5 separate regions of the Homo sapiens genome follow, and all the other regions are linked to region 2. The links are contacts of gene promoters, found by promoter capture Hi-C in human tissues and cell types (Jung and others, 2019). All regions are on one chromosome and are shown on one strand. The core of a region is centred on a gene start or on the middle of the fragment in contact, and the rest is flanking DNA. Distances in the headings are between cores, read along the strand shown. Region 1 has its middle 7.5 kb from the start of POLA2. Region 2 holds the start of NAALADL1 (N-acetylated alpha-linked acidic dipeptidase like 1). Region 3 overlaps EHD1 (EH domain containing 1). Region 4 holds the start of MIR194-2HG (MIR194-2 host gene). Region 5 holds the start of MAP4K2 (mitogen-activated protein kinase kinase kinase kinase 2).

Region 1 (2,735 bases), core at 166-2,665, 200 kb before region 2:
GGGTGTGGTGGCGGGTGCCTGTAGTCCCAGCTACTCGGGAGGCTGAGGCAGGAGAATGGCGTGAACCCAGGAGGCGGAGCTTGCAGTGAGGCAAGATGGCGCCACTGCACTCCAGCCTCGGTGACAGAGCAAGACTCCGTCTCAAAAAAACAAAAACAAAAACAAGAATTCTTACAACTCAACAATAAAAGACAGGTGATTCACTGTCTTTTATTGTCAACAATAAAAGAGAGGTGATTCGCTGGAGGTCACGAAGCTGTAAGTAACAGAAAGTAACTGTGGACCAGTTGGTTCCTTTACATTGCATCTGGGTAGGTTTACAGAAACTGTTGTGGGGAGCACACAGGCAACAATGGAGTGAAATTTACAACCAGCTCCTGTAGCTGATTTCCTGGACTCCGATTGCAAATGGGGACCTCATGGATCTCACATTAGTGTGAAATGATAGAAGAGGTTAATGCCAGGGTCCAGTTTTACACTGTTGTTAGCACACACAGAGTGGATGGTCACATGTATTGTAGCCCACCTGGAGTGAGCACAGAGTGGAAATCAGATGGAACATGATTTTAACTCTGATAATTTATATGTTTGGAAACTGCAAAAGGATGAAGGGTGGCTTTGAGAGAATTGAGTCAGATAGCAGAAGTATGTATAGTATGTGACATATATAAGATTTTATAGAATATATAACATATATAGATAATAATATATATTATGCATATAGTTACACACACACACCAAGGATGCCAAAGAGGAATTTTAGGTTTGGTTTTGTTTTGTTTCAGGCAGAGTCTTGTTCTGTTGCCCAAGCTGGAGTGCAGTGGCTTGATCATGACTCACTGCAGCCTTGACCTCCCTGGGCTTACGTGATCGTCCCACCATAGCCTCCCAAGTAGCTGGGACTTCAGGTACACACCGCCATGACCCGGTTAATTTTTGGTTTTGGTTTGTTTGTTTGTTTCGTAGAGATGGGGTTTTACAGTGTTTTGTTGTTGTTGTTGTTGTTGTAGAGACGGGGTTTCATCATGTTGCCCAGGCTGGTCTTGAGCTCCTGGGCTCAAGTGATCCACCTGCCTCAGCCCCTCAAAGTGCTGGGATTACAGGCGTGAGCCACCATGCCCAGCCTATTTTATACTTTTATTTCATTTATTTTACACTGTTATTTATGTGGTTTGTTTTTTGTTAGTTAGTCTGTTTGTTTGTTTGGGACAGAGTTTCACTCTTATTGCCCAGGCTGGAGTACAGTGGCGCAATCTTGGCTCACTGCAACCTCCGCCTCTGAGGTTCAAGCAATTCTCCTGCCTCAACCTCACAAGTAGCTGGGATTACAGGCATGCACCACCACGCCTGGCTAATTTTGTATTTTTAGTAGAAACGGGGTTTCACCATGTTGGCCAGGCTGGTTTCGAACCTCTGATCTCTGGTGATTCACCTGCCTCGGCCTCCTAAAGTGCTGGGATTACAGGCGTGAGCCACCACGCCTAGTCATCTGTGTTTTAATTGTGGTAAAAACACATAACATAACATGTATGATCTTAACCGTTTGTAAGTGTACAGTTCAGTAGTGTGAGTACATGTTTTATTTATTTTTGATGCTCTCCAGAAGTCGGGAATTTGGGAATTTTGGGAGGCACCGCCCTACACTGTAGGTATATTGCCACCAGGTGGTGGCAGTGTAGCATGGTCCTCAGGGTCTGGTCTGAGTTTCTCCAGGACTGTCTTTTACACTATTTATTTATTTCATGTGTATAACTTTATGGGGTGTGAGTGTAATTTTGTTACATGCATAGATTGTGTAGTGGTGAAGTCAGGACTTTTAGGGTATCTGTCACCTAAATAACACACATTGTATCCATTCAGTAATCTCTGATCACCTACCCCCATTCACCCCCACTCACCCTTCTGAGTCTCAGTTCTCTACCATTCCACACTCTACGTCCATGTGTACATATTATTTAGCTCCCTCTTAGAATTGAGAATGTGCAGTATTTGTCTTTCTGTGTCTGATTTGTTTTACTTAATGTCCTCCAGTTCCATCCATGAATGTCCTCCAGTTCCATCCATGTATGTCCTCCAGTTCCATCCATGTGACTGCAAAATACATGATTTCATTCTTTTTTATGACCCAATAGTATTCCATGGTGTATATGTACCACATTTTCTTTATCCAATCATCTGTTGATGGACACTTAGGTTGATTCCATGTCTTTGCTCTTGTGAATAGTGCTGTGGTAAATGTACTGGTGCAGGTACCTTTTCGATGTAATGATTGCTTTGGGTAGACACTCAATAGTGAGATTGCTGGAGCACATGTTAGTTCTATTTTTAGTTCTTTGAGAAACCCTTGTATTGTCTTCCATAGAAGTTGTACTAATTTACAATCCCCCAATAGTGTATAAGAGTTCCCTTTTTGGCCTGGCATGATGGCTTACACCTGTAATCCCTGCACTTTGGGAATCTGAGGCTGGTGGATCACTTGAGGTCAGGAGTTCAAGACCAGCCTGGCCAACATGGTGAAACCCCATCTCTACTAAAAATACAAAAATTAGCCGGCATGGTGGCAGGCGCCTGTAATCCCAGCTACTCAGGAGGCTGAGGCAGGAGAATCACTTGAACCCAGGAGGCAGAGATTGCAGTGAGCCAAGGTCGCGCCACTGCACTCCAGCCTGGGCAACAGAGGGAGACTCTGTCTCAAAAAAAAAAAAAAAGAGTTTCCTTTTCTCCACATCCTTGCC
Region 2 (2,700 bases), core at 57-2,556:
AGATGTTCCCTCCTAGTCAGAACTCCTCACTCTTTCACTGGGAGCATGGTGATCCTCCCTCTACAGGGCACTTACCACATGGCTGAACCTAAAGCCTGTCTGCCTCGCCTGCTGGATTTTGCTTCCCCACAGCCTTGCATGGCTCTAGTATAGCACAGAATGAACAGTGCTTGCATGTATAAAGGAAGGAATGAATAAGTGAATGGAGGGATGGGTGGATGGATAAATAGGAGGGTGGATGACGGAGTCCAGGCAGAGCCAGGGGATAGAAGAGGAAGTCACCTCGCCAGGGAGGCATGGGCTTCCCCTGCTGCCTCCTCTGGGACAGCCTCCCTTCCCAGGACTCCCATTCCTCGTATCGCTGGGCTCCCTTCAGGATAGACACAGAGAGTTCTTCTGGGTCCTCCTTCTTCCTTTAGCTCTAGGCCTTACATTTTCCAGAGTCAGATGAGGGATGAGTAGTTAAAATTGATGAGCTCCCACTACATGTCAGACACTGCACTAGCTATTTCTACAGATGCCATATTGTTTAATGAAAATGACACCATAGCCGGCACGGTGGCTCACTCCTGTCATCCCAGCACTTTGGGAGGCTGAGGCGGGTGATCACCTGAGATCAGGAGTTTGAGACCAGCCTGGCCAACATGGTGAAACCCCATCTCTACTAAAAATACAAAAATTAGCTGGACATGGTGGTGCACACCCGTAATCCCAGCTACTCGGGAGGCCGATGCAGGAGAATCACTTGAGCCCGGGAGGTGGAGGTTGCAGTGAGCCGAGATCACACCACTGGACTCCAGCCTGGGTGTCAGTGGAAGACACAGTCTAGAAAAAAAAAAAAGAAAACAGGTGTAGAGAAGCTGAGTGGATTGCCCAAGGTCACACAGCTTACGTCCAGCAAGAAGGGGGATCTCAACTCAAAATCTGCTCAGGCAGGTAGGGCTGGGTATGCTGTAGATCGGCTGCCTTGGAGGGAGGCAGAGGCAGTGAGGGTGGGCAGTGGGCACGGCCCTGCTGTGAACACAGGAGCTCTGAGTTCCAGCCCTGGCTTGGCCTCTGTTTTCCTGGGACACCCTGGATGAGCCCCTTCCCTCTCGGCTTCAGTGTCCCTGGGTGACCTTGCTGCCCTTGGAGAGCCATTCCAGGCAAATGGTGCAGGATGTGGTGGATGTGGATGGCTCCTGGCTCTCACTGCGGGATGTTCCCTCACTCTCCCTGCCAGCTGGGGGTCAAAGGGCAGTGCCACCCATGGGGTAATGTTTAACCAGGCACAACACCCCCTCTATAGGGAATAACCTATAGACCAGTCCTACCCCAGCTGGCCAAGAGTCCGCAGGATGCAGTGGACGAAGGTGTTGGGGCTGGGGCTGGGGGCTGCTGCCCTCTTGGGGCTGGGGATCATCCTCGGCCACTTTGCCATCCCCAAAAAAGCCAACTCACTGGCCCCCCAGGACCTGGACCTGGAGATCCTGGAGACCGTCATGGGGCAGCTGGATGCCCACAGGATCCGGGAGAACCTCAGGTGAGAAGTGGGGCCATCTGCTCCTCCGTTTGCCAGAGGCCCCCTCCCTGATGCTGGCCCTGCCCCTCCCTCTGCCCACCCTGCAGAGAACTCTCCAGGGAGCCACACCTGGCCTCCAGCCCTCGGGATGAGGACCTGGTGCAGCTGCTGCTGCAGCGCTGGAAGGACCCAGAGTCAGGCCTGGACTCGGCCGAGGCCTCCACGTACGAAGTGCTGCTGTCCTTCCCTAGCCAGGAGCAGCCCAACGTCGTGGACATCGGTGAGGTCCTGCCCAGTCTTGGGAATGCCCGGGGGTGGGGAGCTGCTGGGCCCAGCCATGATACTGCCACCCCTCCAACAGTGGGCCCCACTGGGGGCATCATCCACTCCTGCCACCGGACTGAGGAGAACGTGACCGGGGAGCAAGGGGGGCCAGATGTGGTACAACCCTATGCTGCCTATGCTCCTTCTGGAACCCCACAGGTGGGCCCAGAACCCCCCCTACTGCTCTGGCCCAGCTCCCTTGGTTCCACCCAGGGTTCTCCCCACCCTGACCCAGGGAACGTGCCTCAACTGGGGCACAGCGCGCCCTCCGGAATTTACTCACCGGGACACTCCATCGCTGCTCCTTTCCTCCATCAGTCATTCAACAAACACTAGTGGCTCTGCTCAAGGCCAGGTCTGTTACAGGGCACCCAGACATGGAGGAAATGAGGGGTGACTGTTCTTGGGGAGCTTACAAGCTCTGGGTGAGGTGGGGGAACAGAATCTAAATTCTCCCTCCTGCCATGCAAACTTCCACCCCCCTTCCCCACCCACACTTCGCTGGGCCCAGCTCTAAGGATCACCCCCTCTTGGGACTAGGGCCTCCTCGTCTATGCCAACCGGGGCGCGGAAGAAGACTTTAAGGAGCTACAGACTCAGGGCATCAAACTTGAAGGCACCATTGCCCTGACTCGATATGGGGGTGTAGGGCGTGGGGCCAAGGTGAGTGGCAGTCCCCCAGTGCAGGAGGCCTCGGTGAGGAAGGGGCTGGGCAGTGGACTGGAGGAAGTGAGGGGAAGGGGAAGGAGAAGAGGCAGTGTTGAGTGGGGAACCAAGCCCCAGGGTGGGGCAGGAAAGGCAAGGTGTTTTCGGGTTGTCCCACCAATGGGCTGTGTGGCCTCGGATGCCTCCCTGACCCTCTCTGAGCTGTAGGA
Region 3 (2,722 bases), core at 123-2,622, 190 kb after region 2:
CTTCACTTCCCAAATGGACACTCTTCCTGTTCAACACCAGCTCCCCTCGTGGCTCCCTGCACCCCGCAGCCCCTGCACTCCCCATTCTATATTCCTTTTCTGTGCACTTGATTACTCCTGGTATCTCCTGTCAGTGGAATCCTACAGTGCCGTATCTGTCCTTTTGTGGCAGGATGTTTTAAAAAAACTTTTAGGTTCAGGAGTACATGTACAGGTTTGTTATACAGGTAAATGGAGTGTGGTGGGGTTTGGTGTATAGATTATTTCATCACCCAGGTAATAAGCGTAGTATCTGATAGGTAGTTTTTCTTTTCTTTTTTTTTTTTTGGAGACAGGGTCTCACTCTGTCACCCAGGCTGGGAGTGCAGTGGCACAATCACAGCTCACTGTAGCCTCCACCTCCCGGGCCCAAACAATCCTCTTACCTCAGTGTCCCAAGTAGCTGGGAATACAGATGCATGCCACCACACCCAAATTTTTTTAAATTTTTGTAGAGGGGGGTCTCGCTATGTTACCCAGGCTGGACTCAAGCAGTCCTCCTGCCTCAGCCTCCCAGAGTGCTGCGATTACAAGCGTGAGCCACCATGCCCAGCCTGCTAGGCAGTTTTTCTGTCCTCACCCATTCCACCCTCAAGTAGGCCCTGGTGTCTGTTGTTCTCTTCTTTGTTGCCATGTGTACTCAATGTTTCACACCCATGGATGAGTGAGAACATGCGGTATTTGGTGTGGAACATGCGGTATTTGGTTTTCTATTCTAGTGTTAGTTTGCTGAGGATAATGGTCTCCAGCTCCATCCATGTTGCTGCAAAGGTCATGATCTTGTTCCTTTTTATGGGTGGATAGTATTCTCTGTGGTATATGTACCATGTTTTCTTTATCCAGTCTACTGTTGATGGGTATTTAGGTGGATTCCATCTTTGCTATCGTGAATAGTGCTGCAATGGACGTATGTGTGCATGTGTCCTTATGGCAGAATGATTTCTCTTCCTTAGGGTTTATGCCCAGTAATGTGATTGCTGAGTCGAATGGTAGTTCTGTTTTAAATTCTTTGAGAAATTGCCAAGCTGCTTTTCACAGTGGCTGAACTGGTTTACATTCCCACCAGCAGCGTATAAATGTTCCCTTTTCTCTGCAACCTCACCAGCATCTGTTATTTTTAGACTTTTTAATAATAGCCATTCTGACTGTTATGAGATGTTGTCTCATTGTGGTTTGATTTGCATTTCTCTAATGATTAGTGATGCTGAGAGTTTTTTCATATGCTCGTTGGCCGCGTGTGTGTCATCTTTGGAAAAGGTCACAGACTTATTTCATCACTTAGCATCATGTCTTCTAGGTCCCAGGATTTTCTGAGCTAGAGCTTCCTGGTGGCTTATGATCCCTTATCAGAGGGGGCTCTGGCTTTTACTCACTAAAACCACTCCCTCTGCAGGTGGGCCTTTCTCTCCAGCCCACCCGCTTGGGCCATGTTTTCTGTGTCCTTTTGCTCGGCATCAGTTCTGTCACTCCCACTGGGGCCTGAGCTAGTCAAGCTAACAGCAAGGCCCCTACCTTGGTGGGTGCCAAAGCCTGAAGTCTTGTTGCCTTGGGCAGTGCCGGGGGTGCTGGCAAGCCCTGTTCTGTACTTGATACCGGCCGTCCAGCTCTGATCTAGAGAGTGGCTCAGTGTTACCGCTGTGCAGTGTAGCCTTTGGCACCTCTTGAAACCCGGCGTCTTTTAGGCTGAGTGAGGTGCCTTTGAGGGCAGCGAGGGCCTGGTGGGCTAAGGAGCGCCGGTGGGCCTGGTGGGGCGTGCAGTTACGTGGTCACTGCCTGCATGGCACAGGCCTGAGTGCTGTGGCCCTTTTTGTCACCTGTGGGTGTGGCTGGCCAGTCACTGTGTTTCCCTCACAGCAAAAGCACATTTTCTGTAATAAACAGGAAATTTTAGTCACCTGCAAAGAAATGGGCTTACCTCTGTTGACTCCAGCTTGAGATGACGGCCAGTAACTGGGTTTCAGAGCAGGTGGGGCAGGGCTTCTGGACCTGGGGCAGGGAGTTTTGGAGTGCTCACTCTTCTTTCTTCCTTCCCCTCCTTTTTCTCTCTTTCCCCAGGGCCCCCCAGCCATCCAGGGGGAGGGGGGAGTGGGGCCTTGCTGGGTGGAGTTTGGGAGGGTGACCTCAGCTCCCCAGGCGCCGTCCTGACTCCCAGGCCAAAGCTAACATGGGCTGAGCACAGCCCATCAGGGCGCCCTCATTCCCAAGAACTCGGTTTTGGCATCACAGCCTCCCCAGCTGTGTGAATTCTAGTTTCAGCTTGTGGCGGGCTGAAGACAAATGATTTGACAAGGGGAGAAGCTGGGCCCCCTTTTTGCTGAGCGAGGAACCTCAGTCCTTGAGTCATCGCCTTTTCAGTACTGACCTGCGTTCCCAGAGCTGGCCATAAAAGGCTGTGGGCTGCGGGCCCCAGGCAGGCGCTGCAGGCTTAGCTAGTGTGGCCTCATCCCCCGGGGGCAGAGGCGGCCTCTCCCTGCCCCTGTTTCCCTCATGTTGCCCTTGGCCTCTCTTTCTGGTTTTCTGCCGAGACTTCACTCTTTGGGCATCCTCTCCTGTGGAGCTCAGAGCCAGCTGCAGGGAGTCCGGGTGCCCGGGGCCTTGTACTTTGGAAGCAGGAGCCTGTGGTGGCATGAGGTGCCCTGGCACGATGCCCTTCCACACCTTCTGGGCACAGGGAACCTGGCAG
Region 4 (2,770 bases), core at 21-2,520, 160 kb after region 2:
CCCCCGTCTCCCGCTCCCTGCAGGATAAGCGCTCTGCGCGGAGGCTGCGCAGGGGCCAGCAGCCTGCCGACCTGCGGGAGGGTGTGGCCAAGGCCTACGACACAGTGCGAGAGGTGACCAGGCCCCCGCCCTGCCCCAGTCCCCCATGCCCATCTCCTCACACAGACCCCGCCCTGACCTCTGGCTTCCACAGGGCATCTTGGATACAGCTCAGACCATCTGTGACGTGGCATCGCGGGGCCATGAGCAGAAGGGGCTGACGGGCGCCGTGGGGGGCGTGATCCGCCAGCTGCCCCCGACTGTGGTGAAGCCGCTCATCCTGGCCACGGAGGCCACGTCCAGCCTGCTCGGGGGCATGCGCAACCAGATTGTCCCCGACGCCCACAAGGACCACGCCCTCAAGTGGCGCTCGGACAGTGCCCAAGACTGAGCCTGGGGTGCCCGGCACCCAGAGGGTGCTGCCCACCATGCTCCTGAGCCTCCCAAGAGCTGCAGCCCACGGGCCCGGCCCGGCCTGGCCCTTCAGGGGATGGCCACTGTGAAGGACGCCTTCCCAGCCTGCCCGTTGCCAATCTGCTGTGAGAGGGGGGCCTCCCTGCCTTGGGGCCTTAGCCCTGGCTCTGCACTTTTCCTCCGGGGAGAAAGGACACTGCCCCTCCCCCGACCTGGGCCCACACTGCTGCCTTCTCCCAGGACGGAGGCTTTTGGACCCTCGGACCCCATCCCACTCAGCCAAGTGTCTTTCTGTGTCTGGGGGGAGGAGGGGATGATATCCGTGTGGTTCGATGTATTATTTTTAAGCTCCGTGAGTGCGTGGGTCAGTGTCTGCATGAAGTGGAATAAACTGCCCACCGCCAGCCCCCCTCTCAGATCCTCTGTCCCTGTGAACCCTGGCCTCAGCCTTGACCTTGGCCCCGCCCCAGATCCCACCTCTGCACCCAGCACCTCCCATGTCACCACCAGGGGTCGCCATGCCTCCTGGCCTTGCCCAGCAGATCAGGGCACAGGGGGACCCAGAGGCACCCAGCCCTGCACGCCTTCCCCTGGCTCTGGGCTCTGCCTTGCCCCTCCCAGGAGGCTGCCACTCCAGCCCCACTCCTGATGTGGCAGGAGCTACGTGGGGCTGCCAGGGGAGGGAGGGATGGTCCTTGGAGCCCAGCTGACCCTGCCTGGTTGTCACTTGAGGCCACTCGGGGAAGGCTGAGCCTGAGGCATTCTAGATGTTGCTCTCACCATCCCTAGTGGGGGCTTTTGGGGTGGCCCAGGCCTTGGCCCCTTGGTTTCCACTCTGATCTGGGGTCCCAGCTCCAGCACTTGGAGGGGGGAGGGGTGCTGGAGCAGCGCTGCAGCCGGAATCCCAACCCTCACTGCACAAAGCTTTACACAGGACCAGGGAGCGCCCATTGCCCCCCACACATCTTGTTTCTTGTGAGCTGCTCCCATCGCGCTCCTCCCTGCCCTGCTTCCCAGTGGCGCTGCACAGAGGTGGGTGGGTCCATGGGGAAACCAAGGCTCGGGTTGGGAATCAGGGAACCCTCACCTTGCTAGGTTCCGCAGGCCTCTGGGGTTAGCAAAGGTCCCCCAGCCCTGCTCTGTGGCCCCTTCTGAGTGGGGGAGATCTGGGTACTGGGAACAGAGCAGAAGCTTTGTCCCGAGGGACCCTGGGGTCCTGGCTGCCCACGGACAGCTGGGGCAGCAGGCTGGTAAGAGACCAGGAGGGCGAGGCCCTGGAGGAGACAGGGCTGTGGAGACTCGGTGCTGATGCCACCCGGAGAGGCAGATGGGGCCCAGCCTGATGCTTCCTGGACCCGCCCCACCCTGCCCGGGCACAGTCCAGGGCTTCCTGCCCTTCGAACCGCACTTGTGATCAGTATTGACGGTGGTGGGATAATCATTAACCACCACCAGGGGCTGGGTCAACGGCTCAAAAGGCCCTGGGCCCAGGGTGTCCCCACTTCCTCCTTGTGCCCCGAAGGCCAGCCCGGCACTCAGGTAAGAGGCTTCCTGAGTGGTAGGACCCCTGCCGCCCTCCCTGTCCTAGGAGGCTCCTGAACCCAGGCACCTCTCTGAAGGGTGGCCAATCCTGAGGAAGAAAGGGACCTGGACAGCCATGGGGTGGCCGGGACGAGCCCCTTCCTCTCTGTGCCTTGGTTTCCACTGTGGGATAAGGGGGCCTTAGCATCAGCGCTCAGAGCTGTGGAGCCAGGATTCCTGATCGGGCGCTGTCTCTGCCAGGCCAGGGCACTTGGACACCACGCTGCAGGAGGCTGGTCTCGCCCAGGCCTCTGTGGGAAGGGCCGCCAGGCTGAGTGGAGGGCCAGCCACCAGCTACGGTGTCTTCCTTCGCAGGTCTGTCCCCCCAGGCAGAAGGATTCCAGCCCAGGGATCCCCCATCCCACCCTGACTGCATCCTGAGAAGGGGGGACGCCACTTCGGGAAGGTTGTTGGGGCAGCACAGGCCCTGGGGCCCTGCTCTGTGACCTTGGGCGGCCCCCTCTGTCTCTCTAGGCCTGTATGCACCACTGGCAAAGGGGGCAGGGCCCAAGTCTACTCTAAAAGCTCCCCTTTCTCTCCAGAAGCTTTGGAGTCTCCCAAAATGCCTGCTGGGTCTCTGCAGGACTGGCACCTGTCACCGGAACCTGTCTGGGAGGGACGAGAACACGCTTTGCAAGAGGAAGCTCTGCCTCACAGAGCCCTGGGCTCACTCAGGGACCCTGGCCAGCAGCTGCTTCCTCTCCCCACAGCGGAGAGAGACCCAAGGGTCCCAGGG
Region 5 (2,500 bases), core at 1-2,500, 260 kb after region 2:
CAAGATCAACTCGAGCGCCATCAAGCTGCAACTCACGGCACAGTCGCAAGTGCAGATGAAGAAGCAGAAAGTGTCCACCCCTAGTGACTACACTCTGTCTTTCCTCAAGCGGCAGCGCAAAGGCCTCTGAACTACTGGGGACTTCGGACCGCTTGTGGGGACCCAGGCTCCGCCCTTAGTCCCCCAACTCTGAGCCCATGTTCTGCCCCCAGCCCAAAGGGGACAGGCCTCACCTCTACCCAAACCCTAGGTTCCCGGTCCCGAGTACAGTCTGTATCAAACCCACGATTTTCTCCAGCTCAGAACCCAGGGCTCTGCCCCAGTCGTTAGAATATAGGTCTCTTCTCCCAGAATCCCAGCCGGCCAATGGAAACCTCACGCTGGGTCCTAATTACCAGTCTTTAAAGGCCCAGCCCCTAGAAACCCAAGCTCCTCCTCGGAACCGCTCACCTAGAGCCAGACCAACGTTACTCAGGGCTCCTCCCAGCTTGTAGGAGCTGAGGTTTCACCCTTAACCCAAGGAGCACAGGTCCCACCTCCAGCCCGGGAGCCTAGGACCACTCAGCCCCTAGGAGTATATTTCCGCACTTCAGAATTCCATATCTTGCGAATCCAAGCTCCCTGCCCCAAATAACTTCAGTCCTGCTCCAGAATTTGGAAATCCTAGTTTCCTCTCCTTCGTATCCCGAGTCTGGGACACAAAACTCCGCCCCCAGCCTATGAGCATCCTGAGCCCCGCCCTCTTCCTGACGAAACTGGCCCCGGATCAGAGCAGGACCTCCCTTCCGACCCTCTGGGAACCTCCCAGAGGTCCAGCCCATCTCGGAGCATCCCGGAGGAAATCTGCAGAGGGTTAGGAGTGGGTGACAAGAGCCTGATCTCTTCCTGTTTTGTACATAGATTTATTTTTCAGTTCCAAGAAAGATGAATACATTTTGTTAAAAAAAATATAAAGCGCAAGTCCATGTTTATCTGGGAAATTGGGGATGGGGCGGGGAGTGGAGCGCCCCCTCTTCCCTCTGTCTTCTGGCTCCCGGGACTTTGCGCTCCCTACCTGTGGAGCGCGAGCGACAGTGGCGGCGGAAGGACGTAGGCTCCGCCCCGGCCTTGGGGCTTCCCCGCGCCGCCGAGGGCCCGTCCCGCGGGCGCCTCCTCCCGGACTGGCGGTGGGGCATCCCCGGCGCGGCCCCGCCCCCGGGCCTCAGCCCCGCCCCCGCGGCCTCAGAGCCACGGGCGCCCGCCCCGCCCCGCGCCGCCCCGCGCCGGCTCCGCAGCTCGCGCCCGCCCGCCTGCCGGCCCGCCCGGCGCCGGGCCATGGCGCTGCTGCGGGATGTGTCGCTGCAGGACCCGCGGGACCGCTTCGAGCTGCTGCAGCGCGTGGGGGCCGGGACCTATGGCGACGTCTACAAGGTGCGACGGGACGGGCGGGAGAGCCGGGAGGAGGGTGCCAGCCCCGCACCCCGCGGCAGGATCTAGCCCCCGGCCCCGCCCCCCATCCCGCTTCACCCTCCGCCCCTGCAGGCCCGCGACACGGTCACGTCCGAACTGGCCGCCGTGAAGATAGTCAAGCTAGACCCAGGTGAGGGCCCGGGTCGGGCCTCTGCGCCAGAGGAAGGGCAGAGCGCCCGCGGGCGCGGGGTGCGGGCGGAGGGTTGACGTTTCCGAGACCCCTGAGAGGCGTGCCCCGGGAGGTGCTGTCACCTGCACCTGCCTGGCCCGGAGGGAGGCACTCTGTGCCCATTTTGCAGATGGGGGCACTGAGTCAGGGCAACCCCAGCGCGCCTTCCCCATGATGCTTTGTGCTTCCCAGGGGACGACATCAGCTCCCTCCAGCAGGAAATCACCATCCTGCGTGAGTGCCGCCACCCCAATGTGGTGGCCTACATTGGCAGCTACCTCAGGTGAGGCTGCCTTATCCTCCTGGCCCCAGGCAGCCCCCATGTGACCTGCTTTGTGCCCACCCCAGCTCTTTGTCCCTAGGAATGACCGCTTGTGGATCTGCATGGAGTTCTGCGGAGGGGGCTCCCTGCAGGAGATTTACCATGGTGAGGCCAGGGCTCCAGGCCCCAGCAGGCCCCAGCCTTCCCCCACCCCTACCCCACTGGGGTACCAGAGGGGACTCTGGGCCCTGGACTTGGGCTCCTCTCCACTCCTGCCTGGCTGTGTGACCTTGAGAGAAATACTGTCCATCTCTGGGTTCAGTATCCTAGACTAAACTGGGAGGGGACGTGGCCAACACCGCTTTCATTTAACAGTGCCTGCTGCTTTTCCCACACACGGTAGCCTGGGAGGGTGGGCATGACCCCCGGGCCCCCAAGCCAGCCTCTCCCTTTTCCTTTCAGCCACTGGGCCCCTGGAGGAGCGGCAGATTGCCTACGTCTGCCGAGAGGCACTGAAGGTAGCTGGGCCTGTGAGGTGCCCACACCTCTGGTCTCCAGAAGCTGTGGGCCAGGAGCCCAGATGACCAGCAGGGAGGCGGGTGGAGTGCCTCGGGTGGGGC

Evidence for each region. The method cuts DNA at HindIII sites, captures the fragments that hold promoters and counts their contacts. A contact is called where the count stands out against the background at its distance.
Region 1: a fragment that was not itself captured here is called in contact with the fragment with the promoter of NAALADL1 in region 2 in 1 of the 25 tissues and cell types used here (heart left ventricle).
Region 3: a fragment that was not itself captured here is called in contact with the fragment with the promoter of NAALADL1 in region 2 in 1 of the 25 tissues and cell types used here (adrenal gland).
Region 4: a contact is called between a fragment that was not itself captured here and the fragment with the promoter of NAALADL1 in region 2, in 5 of the 25 tissues and cell types used here (adrenal gland, bladder, dorsolateral prefrontal cortex and 2 more).
Region 5: the fragment with the promoter of MAP4K2 here is called in contact with the fragment with the promoter of NAALADL1 in region 2 in 2 of the 25 tissues and cell types used here (aorta and dorsolateral prefrontal cortex).

The regions. Positions count from the first base shown.
Region 1 is chr11:65,253,090-65,255,824 of GRCh38, reverse strand. No RefSeq gene overlaps it. Among named protein-coding and RNA genes, the nearest start is that of POLA2, 7.5 kb to the left of the region's middle. The HindIII fragment of the contact is 3,849 bases long and covers 1-2,735 here.
Region 2 is chr11:65,057,159-65,059,858 of GRCh38, reverse strand. It overlaps NAALADL1 (N-acetylated alpha-linked acidic dipeptidase like 1), which reads left to right and starts at 1,306. Exons shown (of 18, transcript NM_005468.3): 1 at 1,306-1,522; 2 at 1,609-1,781; 3 at 1,863-1,984; 4 at 2,366-2,488. The coding sequence starts at 1,338. The HindIII fragment of the contact is 22,908 bases long and covers 1-2,700 here.
Region 3 is chr11:64,864,286-64,867,007 of GRCh38, reverse strand. The region is part of intron 2 of EHD1 (EH domain containing 1); the gene reads left to right. Among named protein-coding and RNA genes, the nearest start is that of MIR10392, 13 kb to the left of the region's middle. RefSeq lists an enhancer at 887-1,186. The HindIII fragment of the contact is 8,078 bases long and covers 1-2,722 here.
Region 4 is chr11:64,892,633-64,895,402 of GRCh38, reverse strand. ATG2A (autophagy related 2A) reads left to right here. Exons shown (of 41, transcript NM_015104.3): 40 at 1-113; 41 at 194-857. The coding sequence ends at 430. It overlaps MIR194-2HG (MIR194-2 host gene), which reads left to right and starts at 1,954. Exons shown (of 3, transcript NR_133640.1): 1 at 1,954-1,992; 2 at 2,577-2,770. The HindIII fragment of the contact is 4,598 bases long and covers 1-2,770 here.
Region 5 is chr11:64,801,964-64,804,463 of GRCh38, reverse strand. MAP4K2 (mitogen-activated protein kinase kinase kinase kinase 2) reads left to right here and starts at 1,250. Exons shown (of 32, transcript NM_004579.5): 1 at 1,250-1,410; 2 at 1,522-1,579; 3 at 1,811-1,901; 4 at 1,981-2,045; 5 at 2,343-2,398. The coding sequence starts at 1,315. It overlaps MEN1 (menin 1), which reads left to right. Exons shown (of 10, transcript NM_001370259.2): 10 at 1-948. The coding sequence ends at 130. RefSeq lists silencers at 1,111-1,290, 1,441-1,620. The HindIII fragment of the contact is 25,459 bases long and covers 1-2,500 here.